Regions from separate parts of the Homo sapiens genome. Here region 1 is linked to region 2. Evidence: promoter capture Hi-C in 16 types of primary human blood cells and fetal thymus (Javierre and others, 2016). All regions are on one chromosome and are shown on one strand. Each heading gives the region's core, a stretch centred on a gene start or on the middle of the fragment in contact. The rest is flanking DNA. Distances are from core to core; before and after follow the strand shown. Region 1 overlaps CNGA1 (cyclic nucleotide gated channel subunit alpha 1). Region 2 holds the start of COMMD8 (COMM domain containing 8).

Evidence for each region. Contacts are between HindIII fragments. The CHiCAGO score rates a contact against its expected background, and 5 or more counts as called.
Region 1: a fragment that was not itself captured here is called in contact with the fragment with the promoter of COMMD8 in region 2 in 1 of 17 cell types (neutrophils); the score reaches 5.0 in neutrophils.

Annotation. Positions count from the first base shown.
Region 1 is chr4:47,936,451-47,939,526 of GRCh38, reverse strand. CNGA1 (cyclic nucleotide gated channel subunit alpha 1) reads left to right here. Exons shown (of 11, transcript NM_001379270.1): 11 at 1,698-3,076. The region is part of intron 1 of LOC101927157 (a long non-coding RNA gene); the gene reads right to left. Among named protein-coding and RNA genes, the nearest start is that of NFXL1, 23 kb to the right of the region's middle. The HindIII fragment of the contact is 2,926 bases long and covers 364-3,076 here.
Region 2 is chr4:47,462,285-47,465,323 of GRCh38, reverse strand. COMMD8 (COMM domain containing 8) reads left to right here and starts at 1,622. Exons shown (of 5, transcript NM_017845.5): 1 at 1,622-1,738. The coding sequence starts at 1,673. It overlaps LOC107986277 (a long non-coding RNA gene), which reads right to left and starts at 1,441. Exons shown (of 3, transcript XR_001741683.3): 1 at 1,373-1,441. RefSeq lists a silencer at 1,632-1,891. The HindIII fragment of the contact is 2,743 bases long and covers 1-1,998 here.

The DNA.
Region 1 (3,076 bases), core at 577-3,076, 470 kb before region 2:
CAGCTCCCTTGTGGGTCTAGTAATTTGCTAGCACAACTTACAGACCATAGGAAAACACTTATGTTTACTGCGCTATTATATTAATAAAGGGTATGATAATGAATACAGATGAAGAGCCAGATGAAGAGATACATAGGGCAAAGTCGGGAAGAGTCATGAGAACAGGGGCTTTTGTCCCCATGGAATTGGGGTGTGGCACCCTCCTAGTTCATAGATGTGTTCACTAACCTGATAATGCTCCAAACCCCATAGTTCAGGGATTTTTATAGAGGTTTTATCATGGAGGCATGATGGACTATTAACTCAGTCTCCAGTGCTTCTCCCTTTCCTGGATGAAGGAGGTTGGGGTAAAAGTTCCAAGCTTCTAAACATAACTTAGTCTTTCTGGTGACCAGCCCCATCTTGGACCTCACCAAGGGCTGCTTCATTAGACCAAAAGACACTTTTCTTTTTCTTTCTTTCCTCTTTCTTTCTTTCCTTCTTTCTTTCTTTCTCTTTCTTTCTTTCTTCTTTCTCTTTCTTTCTTTCTTTCTCTTTCTTTCTTTCTTTTCTTTCTTTCTTTCTTTCCCTCCCTCCCTCCATCCCTCTCTCTCTCTCTTTCTTTCTTTCTTTTTTTCTTTCAAATAATATCATAGAGACTTAAGCTGGTCTCAAACTCCTGCACTCAAGGGATCCTCCTGCCTCAGCCTTCCAAAGTGCTGGGATTACAGGTGTGAGCCACTACACCTGGCCAGAACAAAAGACATTTCTATCACCCAGGAAATATCAAGGGATAAAGAGCTCTGTTTCAGGAACTGGGGTCAAGAACCAAATACCACAACAAAAGATGGACTTAGGGCCGCGCTCAGTGGCTCATGCCTGTAATCCCAGCACTTTGGGAGGCCAAGGCAGGTGGATCACGAGGTCAGGAGATCAAGACCAGCCTGGCCAATATGGTGAAACCCTGTCTCTACTAAAAATACAAAAATTAGCTGGGCGTGGTGGCACGTGCCTGTAGTCCTAGCTACTCAGGAGGCTGAGGCAGAAGAATTGCTTGAAGCCAGAGGCGGAGGTTGCAGCAAGACGAGATTGCACCACTGCACTCCAGCCTAGGTGACAGAGCAAGACTCTGACTCAAAAAAAAAAAAAATGCACTTAGTAACCATATTGCTTAGGAAATTACAAGAGTTTTAAGAGTTCTGTGCCAGGGACCAAATATATATATATATATATCTCACAATATCACAAGAATGCTACTCATGAAAGGAATGGCTTTACCTGGATGGTGATGATAGACCTTGAGAGATTTGTACACTCTCACTTTTGCACTTACAAAATTTTTCTTTTTTTCTTTTTTTTTCTTTTTTTTTTTTTGAGACAGGGTCTCGCTGTTGCCCAGGCTGGAATGCAGTAGTGCTATCATGGCTCACTGCAGCCTCAAACTCCCAGGCTCAAGTGATATTGGGTCTCAGCCTCCCAAAGCACTGGGATTACAGATGTGAGCTGTCTGGCCAAAATTTTACCTTTTATTTCTACAGCAGAATATTTTCTACAGCCATAGGTTTATTAGTATTTGTATTTTATTACATTGTTAAAGGCATATTTATTGAAAATGAATTTTTCTGTTGACCTCAACAAAGTTAATTGACAGTTATTCACAAAAATTCACAATGACATAAAAAGGAGAAACACTGAATTGATTTTATTTTCTATTTTAGGTTACCTAGAACAAGGACTGCTGGTAAAGGAAGAACTTAAACTCATAAATAAATATAAATCCAACTTGCAATTTAAACTTGATGTTCTGTCACTGATACCAACTGATTTGCTGTATTTTAAGTTAGGGTGGAACTATCCAGAAATTAGATTAAACAGGTTGTTACGGTTCTCTCGTATGTTTGAGTTCTTCCAGAGAACAGAAACAAGGACAAACTATCCAAACATCTTCAGGATTTCCAACCTTGTTATGTATATCGTCATCATTATCCACTGGAATGCATGTGTGTTCTACTCTATTTCTAAAGCTATTGGATTTGGAAATGATACATGGGTCTACCCTGATATTAATGATCCTGAATTTGGCCGTTTGGCTAGAAAATACGTATACAGCCTTTACTGGTCTACACTGACTTTGACTACCATTGGTGAAACACCCCCTCCCGTGAGGGATTCTGAGTATGTCTTTGTGGTGGTTGATTTCCTAATTGGAGTGTTAATTTTTGCTACCATCGTTGGTAACATAGGTTCTATGATTTCCAACATGAATGCAGCCAGAGCAGAATTTCAAGCAAGAATTGATGCTATCAAGCAATATATGCATTTTCGAAATGTAAGCAAAGATATGGAAAAGAGGGTTATTAAATGGTTTGACTACCTGTGGACCAACAAAAAAACAGTTGATGAGAAAGAAGTCTTAAAGTATCTACCTGATAAACTAAGAGCAGAAATTGCCATCAACGTTCACTTAGACACATTAAAAAAGGTACGCATTTTTGCTGATTGTGAAGCTGGTCTGTTGGTGGAGTTGGTCTTGAAATTGCAACCCCAAGTCTACAGTCCTGGAGATTATATTTGCAAGAAAGGGGATATCGGACGAGAGATGTACATTATCAAGGAAGGCAAACTCGCTGTGGTGGCAGATGATGGAGTCACTCAGTTTGTGGTATTGAGCGATGGCAGCTACTTCGGTGAGATCAGCATTCTTAACATTAAAGGGAGCAAAGCTGGCAATCGAAGAACGGCCAATATTAAAAGTATTGGCTACTCAGACCTGTTCTGTCTCTCAAAAGATGACCTCATGGAAGCTCTAACTGAGTACCCAGATGCCAAAACTATGCTGGAAGAGAAAGGGAAGCAGATTTTAATGAAAGATGGTCTACTGGATCTAAACATTGCAAATGCTGGCAGTGATCCTAAAGATCTTGAAGAGAAGGTTACTCGAATGGAGGGGTCAGTAGACCTCCTGCAAACCAGGTTTGCCCGAATCTTGGCTGAGTATGAGTCCATGCAGCAGAAACTGAAACAAAGATTAACCAAGGTTGAGAAATTTCTGAAACCGCTTATTGACACAGAATTTTCAAGTATTGAGGGACCTGGA
Region 2 (3,039 bases), core at 373-2,872:
AAAGATGAGTTAGGACCTAATTCTCTGTCCTCTGACTAAACCTTGGGCCCTGTTAGGTGTGTCATTTTACCTTATTTAGTCATGTTACGTGGCCTTAGGTAAGCCATATCATTTCAGTTCCTCAGCAGGGGTAGTCAAGCATGCAAACTGAGATCACCGTTTCTGGCCTCAGACCAGTGATTTTGTAACTACTATCTATGTGACCTTACAAAATATATTACTTCAAGTTCATTTCCTCATCTGTAATACCCACTGTACAAGGCTGTAGCAGGAATTAGTAAGATAAAAATATATGAAGGGTTTGACATATAGTAGATGCTTGAAAGTACTTTTCTCCCAATTATTATAATACATAAAATTTAAGTTTTTTTCTCAAAATAGACCTTACCCATCATTAGATTTACAGAAAGACTCAGGTGAAGTAGTTTTCCAGACTTCTCATTTTAACTATTACTAGGGGAGCTCCTATTCACAAAGTATCTTAAGACAATTACATTTAAGATAGGGCAATGAGTGTTGTGCATCTATCTGCATTAAGAACTAGAAAGTGGTAAATAAGTGAGGGACAGCTAAAATATCATGAAAACTCACGGGAGAAAGAAATTGACTTCACCTTTTAGAGTTGAGGCACACAGAGAAAGGACGTAGGAGGTAAACCTAGAATGCTGCTAATGAGTAGTTTTTCTCTGCGTAGCCCATAGATTGAATACTTTCTCTTCTGCTTCACCATTTTGCACCACTTTTATTATTAAATTTATAAATTAGATTGTAATTCCTGTTTCTGGTCTACTAGTTATTATTATCCGCTTTTGCAGGACATGCTCATTTTACCACCACTGAATTCTTCAGCACCTGATTAAAGTAACAGCTGTAATAAGAAATAACAGAAAGGATATTTGGACTTTGAGCTTAGTCCAACATTAATAGCATGGCTCTTGAGTCTGATTGATTTTGTTTAACTTCAGACTGGGCCTCTTACTTAGGTCAGTGATTTTTAGCGTTGCCAGATAAAATACAGGACACCAGTTAAATTTGAATTTCAGATGGACAAATAATTTTCAGTATAAATATATCCCATACAATATTTAGGGGATACTTACAACAAAATATTATTGTTTATCTGAAATTTCACATTTAACTGGACGCTTGGTATTTTCATTTGCTAAATCTGACAACCTTAGTGACTTCTCTAATCATGTTTGCTTTCTGCAAATAGGGCTGAAAATAGTACCTTCTCCCTAGGATGATCTATATACAGAACGTTGCTCATGGCAAAACCTTAATTTACCTTGCAAATCAGGATACTTTAGTAGAGACTTCTGTTAAAACTCTGGGACAATGACCATGCCCAGGCACCCAAAAAGATGGTTACCTTTATTCGACGGTTTTCTAAAGAGCACAGAGAAAGTTCAATAGAACCCTAAACAAAGGTACAAACTGCGTTGAAAGATACGTAAATGTGCCTTTAATAGCACAAGGGTATCTTAGCCACATCACTGCAAACTGCAGTCTCCCTGGTTACGGGGAAAGCGGTAGTTCGGTCTCTGCGCAAGCGCACAGGGACTTCTTGGGTCCACGCCCCTCCCCGCCGGCGAGAGTCACGTGGGCGAGTCGTAGCTTTAGACAAGCGGCCAGCCTTGACACGTGACCCAAGCCCCAGCTTCGCGCAGGGATGGAGCCGGAAGAGGGGACGCCCTTGTGGCGGCTGCAGAAGCTGCCGGCCGAGCTGGGCCCGCAGGTGAGGGCGGGTACCGGGGGAAGCGGCGCGGGGCCTGGGATTCGCGACAGCCCGGCGTGCGGATCAGGCCGGGTGCGACCCGGACGCCTTCGCAAGCTCCCTAGGGAAGGGAGGAGGAAGGGGCGTGATTTCGGGTGGTTGGTCCCCGCCTTCCCTGGGGAGCCTAGGAGGACAGCTTGGGGCGCCACCCCCAGCCTAGAGGTGCAGCTCCAGGGGCTTTGCGCGCAGAAGCGCCCACACCAGACTGGGCTTTGAAAGCTTAAGTCGGTGTTTGCTGCCTCTTAGTATACGTTTTCTTAATTCATTCAACACATAACCTCCCAAAGGCTCCCTACCTACCGGACAGCAGGTACAGAGCTAGGTGCTGGAATACAATGTGACAAAGACCGAAGCGGACCCTGCCTCCCCCCTTGAGGGTGGTTGGTAGGAAGAGAAATAACTGGGCGAGTTACTTTAGTTAGGATCGTCCCAAGAGGTGATGTACCCATTGACTTCCAGTCTGTAAAAGAACCTGGCTTGTAAGAATCTGGAAAAAGCAACCACATTCATTTGTTCAGCCAGTTTTTCATTGAAGTCTACCATAGATTGAGCGCCCCGATGGGATGAGGTAAATGGTGAGTGAGACACAGCCTGTGCCCTGGTGGAGCATCTTTTTTATAAGTCTCAATTTTGGCTTCCTGTTTCCTCTATTCCATTTATACTGGAGAAAGTGTGGAGGAGACAGAAAGGAATGAACTTACCTCCTGCCAGGGTCAAGAAAAAAAAACACCTAATTCTTTTCTTTGTTTTTGCAAGTGAGGAACCTGAAATGTCAGCAGAAATTTTGGCTAACTTGCCCAGGATTGCCCATCCAGTTAGTGGCAGAGCTGGAACTTATGCTCAGATCTGTTGATTCTGAGTGTTTTATTGGCTTTTGGCTCTCCTTGTCTTCACTCTACCCATTTAGATAAGGCCCATAACCTTTATTACCATATATGTCGATGACTTCTAAATCTTTAGGTCCAGCCAAAAATTTCTTCCTCTATGGTTCAAGAATGCCAGGTAAAAAACAAAACAAAACCCCAAAAACCCCAAACCAAAATCTCTTCCCTGAGTGTCAGGCTTCTGCCACAGGTACCTCAAATTCAGTATGCCCTTGCCTCAGCTCTTCTTTCCCCCTGGACCTACTCCTCCCGTAGCCTCATTTTCGGTTTGTGGCACCACCACTTTCACCCAGCCCCTCTCAACCTGACGTTCTAGGTTTCATCCATGGCCCCCCCTTTTCACATCTCTTCTACCTCTTTACTGCCTCCATTTTGAGT